3 separate regions of the Homo sapiens genome follow, and all the other regions are linked to region 2. The links are contacts of gene promoters, found by promoter capture Hi-C in human tissues and cell types (Jung and others, 2019). All regions are on one chromosome and are shown on one strand. The core of a region is centred on a gene start or on the middle of the fragment in contact, and the rest is flanking DNA. Distances in the headings are between cores, read along the strand shown.

What was found. Contacts are between HindIII fragments. The study calls those that stand out against the background at their distance.
Region 1: a fragment that was not itself captured here is called in contact with the fragment with the promoter of GCM2 in region 2 in 2 of the 25 tissues and cell types used here (mesendoderm cells and stomach).
Region 3: a contact is called between a fragment that was not itself captured here and the fragment with the promoter of GCM2 in region 2, in 1 of the 25 tissues and cell types used here (aorta).

Annotation. Positions count from the first base shown.
Region 1 is chr6:11,010,274-11,014,273 of GRCh38, reverse strand. It overlaps ELOVL2 (ELOVL fatty acid elongase 2), which reads left to right. Exons shown (of 8, transcript NM_017770.4): 2 at 3,465-3,528. Among named protein-coding and RNA genes, the nearest start is that of ELOVL2-AS1, 31 kb to the left of the region's middle. The HindIII fragment of the contact is 6,284 bases long and covers 1-4,000 here.
Region 2 is chr6:10,879,800-10,883,637 of GRCh38, reverse strand. It overlaps GCM2 (glial cells missing transcription factor 2), which reads left to right and starts at 1,597. Exons shown (of 5, transcript NM_004752.4): 1 at 1,597-1,934. The coding sequence starts at 1,845. RefSeq lists a silencer at 1,408-1,702. The HindIII fragment of the contact is 12,545 bases long and covers 1-3,838 here.
Region 3 is chr6:11,074,364-11,078,164 of GRCh38, reverse strand. It overlaps ELOVL2-AS1 (ELOVL2 antisense RNA 1), which reads right to left. Exons shown (of 5, transcript NR_038964.1): 5 at 1-476. Among named protein-coding and RNA genes, the nearest start is that of SMIM13, 18 kb to the left of the region's middle. The HindIII fragment of the contact is 3,630 bases long and covers 1-3,592 here.

The DNA of each region.
Region 1 (4,000 bases), core at 839-3,338, 130 kb before region 2:
CTCCTCTTTTCTCTTGGATGGATACCTGGGGGTGGAAAACTGGATCATATGGTAGGTGTATGTTTATGTTTTTACCAAACTACTGAACTGTTTTGCAAAGTGGTTGTACCATTTTACATTCCTACCAACTGTGGTAAGTAATCAGGGGTCCAGAGTTAAATAAGGCTCTCCCTGCTACCAGTCTTTCCATTCTTCTCATATTTGCTGTACACAGCCACAAATTGAATTCCAAGTCATTGAACACAGACTTTCTTGTAAGGGCAAGGAGTTGTTCTGGAAGTGGATCTAGGGTTATTTCGCAGAGAATTCTGTGGCCTGGGGAACTTGAAATGTCATCTGGGGAGGCTAAGTTGTGGCCATAGGGAGGCATGATCCCTTGGCTCAAAGGATTTTTTTTTTTTTTTTGCTTTGTGGAGGGACGTGGCCAAAGGATGACCAGAAGGGGGCCTTGAAAGTGTGGGGCTCAGGCCAGTGCCTCTCGCTCAGGTCTAAGGGCTATACTGTTCCCTTCTCATCCACCCAATTCTAACCATCTTGAAAAACCCATCCTGCATCCGCACGCCTGTATCTTCTGTCGTGTGGCAGTTCTGTGTGTCCTCCTCCTCTCGGTTGTTTGCTGTTTGACTTTCTATGTCTCACTTTCCCAATTTGTGCATAAACTTTTCAGTCAACTACTCTGTCTCCTTTTCCTTCATATGTATGACAAAGTGTTATGTACACGAATGCTGTTCAAAAATGTGTCAATGAAATGCATGGAGTTTGCTGCTTTTTCTCTGCTCCTAAGTTGGTGTTAATCTTCAGACATTGTCCAGCACACTTGACATTTACATACAGAATCTAGTCTAGTGTGCAGCTAGGACTTTGTGGTCCAAGCTCTGCCCAGTTAGCCTTCCTAATCTCACCCCAGTTCACTAACACTGCAGACCTCTCTGTGCTTATGCTATGTTTTACTATTCCAGTGTAAACCTCAGTTTGTTCCCCTGACATCACCTCATCTCATCATTGCCTTTTTAGACTACTTCCTTACTAACTATATTAAGTAACCCAGAAATAAAGAGAGAATTTTTATCAGGTTTCTGATTTTCCCAGCATTGGCTGTGGTTCTCTCTGTCAGATAGGTCACTAGAGACCCTGGCCATAAAAACATTTCCCAAGGGAGTCATGCCTCAATGTGTTTTATCTATGTTAATCTTTCTTTCTGATGTGTTCTTTCTTTCCTTCTCCATCTGGAAAATGTCTCCAGTCTTTCAAAATTCAGCCACAGCATTATCTCTTCCAAGAAGGCTTTACTTTTTAAGAGATCTAAATTAAAGTATGTTTCTCTATCCTTTATAGCACATCTCTTATAATATTTAAGACACTGGTACTGCAATTTTTTTATTTATTTGTGTATTACTCTCTCTCCACTAAGAACTCTGTGACGATAAGGACCACATCTCATTTGACTTTATTTTTCAGCATATAACAGTGCTAGTATATAAAATCCTCAAATAATTGGTTAATGAATCAATAAATTAATGAATAAAGGAATGGAATGCCTCTTTTTATTCATCTCTTTCCTTTTCTGTTCTCCACATCTTCCCTTGTTTTACTTTTGTTTCTGCCCTTCTTCCACTGTGACTAAATTTTTGCAATATAGAAATAATACGGGCTTTGTGACCTTTAGCGTTTTCTTAGCTCTACAAATGTTGGAAAATGGATTTTGAACCTTAGCAAACAAGCTGAAACAGTTTAAACATTTGTTTGTGGGTGCAGCAATGGAAGAAAGACTTCATTGGCATTTGTTATGATGGTGAGTACATTTGTGAGATTAACATTCTTTGCTCAAGACTGAGAGGCCTCTGGTCAGCCGCCCCCATTCTAAAGCAACACAGATCATATTCTGTCACACTGAGATCTCAGGTAACTGACCTTTCTCACATCGGGGGCCTCCCGAGATGCCCTACATGGAAACAAAGATGAATATACTGTTTAAAAATTTTCAGGCTTGGTTTAGCCCAGATATTTTTTATAAAGATATTATGAAATAATGAAGATAAAGTTCCTTATATGCTGGCCAGCAATAGTAGGTGCCAGTCAATGTTAGTCATCATCTTCATCCTCTTTCCCAAGCTTTCTAAAGTTCCCGAAGACATACGTTTCCTTGAAATTTCTCTCAGGATCAGAGTCACAAATAAGGAATAGGTCCAAGTGATATGTGCCAGGCAGCAAACATGCCGCTCCTCTTTTTCAGATGCCAGCAAATTAATCATCTGTTTTGGCACTTACAACTTTTTTTGAGAGTGAGCTGAATCTAATGCATGCTCCATATCAACTTCCCGAGGCTGTCATGCTCAGCTCACACACAGTCAGGGACCAACCCGCTGGCCCCACCTTCCTGGAAATACTGGTAATGTTCTGACTTCTCCTCTGGTTGCTTGAGGAGGTGCTGTAGACCTCTGTGGCGGAGCTGGGAAATACCTGAACGGGTATTTTGAGCAGCGTGAGAGCAGACCATGCTGGCAGTATTCCGGCTCCCACCTGAATCCAGTGAAAGTGACAATAATTAATCGGGTGTACCCAAGTGGCACTATTTACAGTAATATAAAGTAGATGTTAATGTGTAAGAAATAGTTTGAAAACAAACAAAACATAAATAGAAAAAATAGCTGTAATGCTCCTTACTTGAAAAACAGTCCTACTTAAAGTTTTAGATTCAGTTTTACGAAATACAGTTCAGCCTGAATTTTCATTTTAAAACTGGATTTATGAATATATTTTGTGGAAACAGATGTTCTCTATTGCCTACCCACAACTGTTATTGTAACAAGGGAAGTTGCTTATGGAACAGCTTTGCCTATAAGCATTTTAGAGGTAAATGGAATTTAGGTCAATAACCCTTCAATGTTTTTTTTTCTTTTTTTTTTTTGAGACAGAGTCTCACTCTGTCGCCCAGGCTGGTGTGAGGTGGCGTGATCTCGGCTCACTGCAAGCTCTGCCTCTCGGGTTCACGCCATTCTTCTGCCTCAGCCTCCTGAGTAGCTGGGACTACAGGTGCCTGCCACCATGCCTGGCTAATTTTTTTTGTATTTTTAGTAGAGATGGGGTTTCACCATGTTAGCCAGGATGGTCTCGATCTCCTGACCTCGTGATCCGCCTGCCTCAGCCTCCCAAAGTGCTGCGATTACAGGTGTGAGACACCGCGCCTGGCCAACCCTTCAATGTTTAAATGCACCAAGTCTGTTCTCTAGGACTCCTCTTGCCTAAGGAAATAAGAGGAATTGTTTCCTTCCAAATCTTTATAGGCTTGTGAAAGGTGAGGATGCATTTACTGTCCTCTTTCCTTAAGTCTTTGCAGTCAAAAGTCCTTGAAGCTGGGACCCTTTGAAAGTCTGTCAGTTACATGTTGTTGGTAGTGGCTTGTTTTGACCGTTTCAAAAAAAGAAGAAAAAAACACTTAAATCATTTTTTCTTTCTCTTTTTAGGAACATCTAAAGGCCTTTGATGATGAAATCAATGCTTTTTTGGACAATATGTTTGGACCGCGAGGTCAGTGAATTACTTGAGAACTTAATGTGGAAGGAACACAGGAAGAACACCATTTAGTTATAGAAAGGGATTATGTTATTTCTGGTGTCTTGGAAATAGTAAGGTACTTAATATTTAGAAACTTAACTTCCTCAACTTTGATATCCTTCCAGAATGTCCAGAAGATCCCATTTCTCCTACTGCTTAACCTCTCCTGGGATTAAAGAAGTTCTGGGAGCAGGAAGCAGAGATAGAGTGAAATGCAATGCTTTCCTCCAGTGTCTGTCTGGCTACAAAGCCGGGTTGTAACTTTCCTTCTAAAGGATGCTGCTTTCTTGTTTCCTCTCCACTGCCCATTCATCTTCCACCTTTCTTACATCCTAGTTATATGTGACATTTCTGCCCTTAGATGCCTTGATAAATTCCCTTTAAAGATGTGTGCGCTGGCTGGGTGTGGAGGCTCATGCCTGTAATCCCAGCACTTTGGGAGGCT
Region 2 (3,838 bases), core at 348-2,847:
TTTCGTCCCAGCCCCGGAGAACCCACATTGTCCTGCGCACCTCCGCACCACCGCGATTCTCTAGTCCTCCAAAGCCTCCCAAGACTGTAATGGAGTAAATTCAATTTCGTCGTGATATTTCCAAGACTATATCAGTGAAGTTTTTTTTTAAGAGTTGTGGGCCGGGCGCGGTGGCTCACGCCTTTAATCCCAGCACTTTGAGAGGCCGAGACAGGAGGATCACGAAGTCAAAAAATCGAGACCATCCTGGCCAACTTGGTAAAACCCTGTCTCTACTAACAATACAAAATTAGCTGGTCGCGATGGCGCGCCTGTAGTTCCAGCTACTCGGGAGGCTGAGGCAGGAGAATCGTTTGAACCTGGGAGGCGGAGGTTGCAGTGAGCCGAGATTGCGCCACTGCACTCCAGCCGGGAAGACAGAGTGAGACTCCGTCTCAAAAAAAAAAAAAAAAAAAAAGATTTGTGTTCGGGTGGGTGGCAACTGAGAGCTCGCCGAACCACAACCTCTTATTTAACAGATAAACAGATAAGGAAGCTGAGACCCAGAGGGAGCCAAAGCAGTGGAGAAAGCGAGTTCTTTGGGACTTTTCCCCTCTCCCCTTTCCCTCCTTCCCCAGGCTCCCACCTACCCCAGGCTCCCACCTACCCCGGGCTCATTTCCGCCCCCCACCTCCTCCAGGTTCACTTTGTAGGACTCCGTTCCTGCAGGGCCAGGTCCCTCCGAAGTCCCCGGGAGCGTGAAGGCGCCTGGGCTCGCGAGCATACGCGGAGGCTTGGCGCACCCTGGCACGTCCCAAACAGCAGAGCCAAGACTGCGAGACACTCACAATAGTTAGGGGAAGAGCCGGCAGTGGAGGCCCAAAATGGGCTGACCCCTAACTAGGAGGCGTGGGCGCGGTTATTCAGGCTAGGGCGCACGCGGACGGCAGAGGGGCCCACGCACGGTTCCCATGCTCTCCTGGAATTGAGTGTTGGCTCTCAGGGGACTTTGCTGGAAAGCCTCCATCTAAGCCCCTTTCCGAAATCAGGGAAGCTGGACGCGTTTAGAAAAAAGAAAAAAAATAGGCCGGTCGCGGTTGCTCACGCCTGTAATCCCAGCACTTTGGGAGGCCCAGGCGGGCAGATCGTCAGGAGTTCAAGACCAGCTTGGTCAGGGTTTCGCATGGCTAAAACCTGTCTCTACTAAAAATACAAAAATTAGCCAGGGTGGTGGCACGGACCTGTATTCCCAGCTACTCGGGAGGTTGAGGCAGGAGAATCGCTTGAACCTGGGAGGCAGAGGTTGCAGTTAGCTGAGATGGCGCCACTGCACTCTAGCCTGGGCAACAGAGTGAGACAAAAAAGAAGAAAAGAAAAGAAGAAAATAATAAGGTTTTAAACTTAAAGGATACATTCCTACTTACCCTCTCCACCCCCACCCTCTGGCTGCAGTTTCCATTTGCTTCCAGGGCTGAGTTTAACCTCCACCTCCGTTCCTGGGACTGTGGTGGAGGGGGCGACCGGCCCCTGGAGCGTGGGCGCTAGCGAGGTAGGCGAGACAGGGCGGAGCCCCCCGGAGGTATATCTTTATAAAGGAGGGGGCAGCTGCCAGAGGTCGATGCTGCCGTTCGGGTGGAGAACGTTCAGCACCGCGGCCAAGGACAAGGCCCCGCCCGGGTCCATAACCATTGTCCCCAGCTTCCAGATATCTAAACAGCCTCTCTCTCTTTCTCTCTCTCTGCACCTCCCCTTCACACACCCCACTTTCTTCTTTAAAGAGAAGAAAAAAAACCCACCTGGCGCACCTGTCCTTTTTTCTTCTATTTTTCAGAACCCTGGGCGGAAAGCGCGAGCGAGTTGGGCAGATGCCGGCGGCCGCGGTGCAGGAAGCGGTCGGCGTGTGCTCCTACGGGATGCAGCTCAGCTGGGACATCAACGATCCGCAGATGCCTCAGGTAAGTGAACCGGGTGTGTGCGGGCACGCGGGGCGCTGTCCATCCGAAGGAGGGAGAATGGCATTCGAGTTCTTGAAGAGTCTGCGGACGGACCATACACACACACACACACACACACACACACACACACACACACACACACACACACATACCCGCAAAATTTCTGGGTTTCTGAGGCCCTCTCAAGTGTAGAAAGAAAACTGGACTCTACAAAAGGCTGAGTTGGGTTTAGAAATGTGTCTTCTTGGCCGGGCGCTGTGGTTCATACCTGTAATCCCAGCACTTTGGGAGGCTGAGGCGGGTGGATCATCTGAGGTCGGGAGTTCAAGACCAGCCTGACCAACATGGAGAAACCCCGTCTCTACCAAAAATACAAAATCAGCCCAGCGTGGTGGCGCATGCCTAAAGTCGCAGCTACTCGGGAGGCTGAGGCAGGAGAATCGCTTGAACCCGAGAGGCAGAGGTTGCGGTGAGCCAAGATCACGCCATTGAACTCCAGCCTGGGCAACAAGAGCAAAACTCCATCTCAAAAAAAGAAGAAGAAGAAGAAGAAGAAATGTGTCTTCTCCCAGCAATTTCCTTGTGCTTGCCTGAAATCACAAGCAAAGCAGCAGGAAATGTTGGTCAGGCTCCACATTCCCAGTCTTGGGGAGAGCGGGACGCCTGTCCTTTCACTTCCCTTTAACCAAGGTAGAAATTAGGTGCCTCTCTCCTTATTCATTTACTTTAAATCCATGAGGAAGCTAAGGAGAAAATCTAAGCAGATGTAAATACCACTGCTTCTCATGCAGCAAAACTGAGGTACAACTGTAAAGTGAATCTAATGACCTAAATTTAAAACAAGTAGCCCGACTTGAGCAATTTGCTCAGACCTCCCTAACTGCTCAGAGGAAGGAGGCCCCATAGTCATGCCAACAAGGCCACCTGTACCCAAAACTTACTTCTTCTCTAATGACAAGCAAATCATCATTCTTTTAGGGTGAATTTGTTGTATTTTGCTTTATTTCAATAAAGCAAAAATGGTTTGGAGCCAAGTCCAAAGAATGACTGGGGTGGATGAAGTGGTGAATGAAGTGGGTGGTTTGAAGCCAGTTCCAGAGAATGACCAATTATCATTAGTCACACTGGTTAGGGCCAAAATTGAGTGATGTTGAAGTCCTGGCTGTAGGGGGTGGGGGGTGTAGAATGAGAGTTGCTTCCCTGCCATTTGCAGATGTGGGCTTCCAGCAATGTTGTGGCACAGGGATAAAAGAGATGGGTCATTTTGTCCGCAACTAAAATGTGTCTGATAGGTGTTCAGATGAATAACAATTCATTGCAACATTGTGTCGCCTCTCATAGAGGTCAGCACTTTTTTGGATCCATATATTTGTAGTAGGTTAGGTGTGTTTTACTCCTTTGTTTTTGTTTGTTTGTTGGGGTTTTTTGTTGTTGTTTGTTTGTTTTTTGAGGCGGGGTTTAGCTCTTGTTGCCTAGGCTGGGGTGCAATCACACGATCTCAGCTCACTGCAACCTCCATCCCCCAGGCTCCAGCGATTCTCTTGCCTCAGCTTCCCGAGTAGCTGGGACTACAAGCATGCGCCACCACGCCCAGCTAATTTTGTATTTTTAGTAGAGATTGGGTTTCTCCATGTTGGTCAGGCTGGTCTCGAACTCCTGACCTCAGCTGATCCACCCGCCTTAGCCTCGCAAAGTGCTGGGATTACAGGCGTGAGCCACCGTGCCTGGCCCACTCCTTTGTTTTAAAGTCTGCCTACTTTAGAGTCACATGGTACCATTTTCATGAAAGTGGACCACAGTACAGCAAGTGCATCTCATTCTGTTTCTGTCCATGTACATCTTCACAGGAAACAATCATATCTTGCATTTTAGAAAAGTCACATCCAAGTAATGTAATTATGGTT
Region 3 (3,801 bases), core at 528-3,027, 190 kb before region 2:
ATTAAGTTTCAACATATGAATTTTGGAGAACACTGACATTTAGAACGTAGTTGTCAGCCAATTCTGTATCCTCATCTTCTGGGATGAACGCTGTGATCCATCACCCAGTGCATTCCCCCTGTGATGTTGGTCTTGTCGCTCCAGGTGTAGGGAGTGCTGGCGGGCATTTTAGGGACTGTCTTGGCCACACCCCTTCCTGGGGTGGACATCCAGTGACTATCCCATGCAGGAATATAAAGAACTGGCCATCTCAGACCAACTCAGGACAACTCTGAAGGGCCATTCTAGCTCCAGAGCTCCTGTGGGTTCAGCCAAGAGTCCTGGCCTGAAATGCATCTCGACTTCTGTCTCTCTGTTCGATTTCTTCTTCCCCCTTCCTTCTATGGGTGTTGAAACCAAGGATGAGCCCTAATAATCATCCTGCAGAATGTGTCTCAGAATTTTCTTCCCAGGAATCTAACTTAGGACACTTTCATCTAAAAGAAATAAAAAATATGTGTAACTTATCTTTAAATACTTTGCCAAGAAAAAAGCCGGAAAACTCCTGGTGGTAAGAAACGGTTTGCCTGGCCATTTTAGTGATGGCCTGTTATTTTAAAATCTTGCTTTTACAAAATTAGGCCCATTGAAAACAACTCATAGCAAGGAAACAGCAAAACAGAGTGACACACTGACAGTGGAATTCCTACCATGCCCTCAGGATACTTCCTATTATTCTATTTGACATGTGAACATGGAACATAAGAGACAAATTGAGGACCCAGTGTCTATCTTTATAGCAAATATTAAGAAAGCTTAATTTCTTACCTTTTAACATAAATACATATACTTTCTCATATTTTCTTTCTATGTCCTCAATGTACAGCATTATATTGCAAAGTCTACTCATCTAGGCAAAAAGCCACAAGAAATGAATGTAAGGAAGGCAGATGGGCACAACCCAGTGGGGCCAGGACTTATGAGCTGTCTGTGCTGCTGAGGACATGGGAAGAGCCAACGATAACTTCTAGATTGCTAGCTCGAGTGACTGAATGAAAGTCAGTGCCCTAAAATCTTTGACTTGGGGAGAGGAGCAAGGTGGCATTTGCCAGGCCGGATTTGGAGTGTGATGGTGGAACATCTGGATACAGGAGTTCAGTGGGAAGGTTCCAGTGTATGTATGCATGAGGGGCAATCAGGAGAGCTGCCAGGACTCAAGTGGCCATCTGCAAGTTAAAGCAAGGAAGTGATGAGAGTATAAAGAGAGAAGATGATAAGCCCAAAGTAATATTTTTAACAGATGAGGCCTAGCAGTAGTATTGAGGATATGCTGGAAAGGCCTCAGGCCTCAAGGCAGCCTATAGGAGGCTGTAGAGATGCAAATGTGGGCTAATGAAGTCCTGGGCAAGGGCACAGGGAGGGTGGAAGGGTGGGAAGGAGAGGATGTGTTTGGGCAAGCTTTACGACTAACAGGAGTAGGGAGCCAGGGAGAGGAGGGAGTTCATGTTTTCCTTTTAGACCTTATTTGGAAAAATACCTTTATCTTAAATACTCTGTGCCTTCCTCCCATTCTGACGTTATGAAAATCCACATACATATGAAGCATTTATGGTTCAAGTTTTAGAAGTGGTTAAGCTGCAGTTAGGCACTGAACACACACCAGTTTCCTATGGCAATTTAGACGACTAACTATAGTAATAGATTTTTACCTACACAGACAGCAATGACATGTCATAAGCAAGAAGGCAAGTATGACTGATTCTCACCTCCTTCTGTGGTGTAATCATTCCTATGACAGGTAGAATATTTGGTTCTAGGCCATGTTTATAAAAGTTTATATTGTAGCTGTTTAGGTTCACTTGTTAGTTTTTTGGGGGGAAAGTTAACCAATTTAGAACTTTGAAAGGGTATCTATACTATTATTTTCACAATTTAATAGGTAGAACATTTGAAAAAATGGATACCGTATTTCCTTCCTTTAGCAGCGGAATCTAACTTTTTCTAAACTTCTATAAGCACTTTCCACTGACCTCCCCCCACCCCAAAAATGAGTAACAACAAGAAAGTAAGGCCACCATGCAAAAAAATACAAAATTTCTCAAACATGTCATATTTCTTTGGTGTTACACAGAATGGAGCCTGCATCCTTCCATTTAAACAACAAAAGCCCTGATTGTTACATTCCTACAGAAATGTGACATTTTACTGGATCTTCATTTTCCAGTACAAAATGTAAATTTCTGGTAGAATGTTTTTTCCCTCAGTATAGTTTTAGAATGTTAATCAGTTGGATAACTAAGTTATTGCAGGCCTGCTTGAATCAGGACTGAGGGGAAATTGCATTTTGGATTAACAAAAACACCTTTATTGGACTTAATATTTATTGTAGCTCAATATCAAGACACTGGTTTAGAAGTACTTATTAACATAACACTACTCTTCTACTTTGTCATGAAATTGGAGTTAGGCTCAAACTTTACATTGTAATTTAAGTCCAGCTAACAGTAGCTAATAACATTCCTGTTGTACTTGTCTACGATGTTAACTCATTCAATCTTCACCTCAATTCTGTTAGGTAGGAACTACAGGCTGACCATTCCTAATTCAAAATTCCAAAAGTTTTGAGCACTGATATAACACCACAAGCAGAAAATTTCACACTTGACCTTGTGTACACAAACTTTGTTTAATGTACGAAATTATTTAAAATGTTGTATAAAATTACCTTCAAGCTATGTGTATGAGGTATATATGAAACATAACTTTATGTTTAGACCTGGGTCCCATCCCCAAGATATCTCATTATGTATATGCAAATATTCCAAAATTTTAAAAAAATCTGAAATTCTAAATACTTCTGGTCCCAAGCATTTTGGAAAAGGGATACTCAACTAGTATTATTATTCCCATTTTATAGATGAGGAAAGTGAGGCATGTAAGGTTAAGTAAGTAGACCAAAATTATACAGCTAGTATGTGGGATGGCCAGGATGCTGACCAGACAGCCTGCCATCAGTCCATGCTCTTAACCACGCTGCTCTACTGCCTGCTTAAGTGAGAGTTAAGTAGTTTTGAGGGAAAAAATACTCCAGCTTGCCTTTATAAAATTCCAGAGATCAAACATGTAGTTATATTGTAGATTAGGGGGAAAATAAGTGGTATCTATAATAAAAAGTGCTCCTGGAAGACATAGCAAGCAGGTCTTTTCTGCCATCCAGGTTACCCTGGAATCCCACTTTCCAATATTCCATTTCACACAATAAAAACACCTGTAATCCTAGCACTTTGAGAGGCCGAGGTGAGCAGTTTCCCTGAGCTCAGGAGTTTGAGACCAGCCTGGGCAACACGGTGAAACCCCGTCTCTACTAAAATACAAAAAATTAGCCTGGCGTGGCATCATGCACCTGTAGTCCCAGCTACTTGGGAGGCTGAGGCAGGAGAATTGCTTGAACCCAGGAGGCGGAGATTGCAGTGAGCCGAGATTGTGCCACTGCACTCCAGCCCGGGCAACAGAGCAAGACGCCATCTCCCAAAAAAAAAAGACAAATGAATGCTTTAGGAATCTAAATGCAATACAGTCTTATGACATTTTGCCAATGAATTGTGATTTTTTTTTAAAAAAGATGAAAGCTGAAAAGGTCATCCAGTTCCAGTTTTGCAAACTGCAGGCTGCCATTCACTTGTGAAAAGCATTTTAAAAAATAGATTGCAGGCTAGGTGCAGTGGCTCACACCTGTAATCCCAGCACTTTGGGAGGCCGAGGCAGGTGAATCACCTGAGATCAGGAGTTTGAGACCAGCCTGACCAACATGGAGAAACCCCA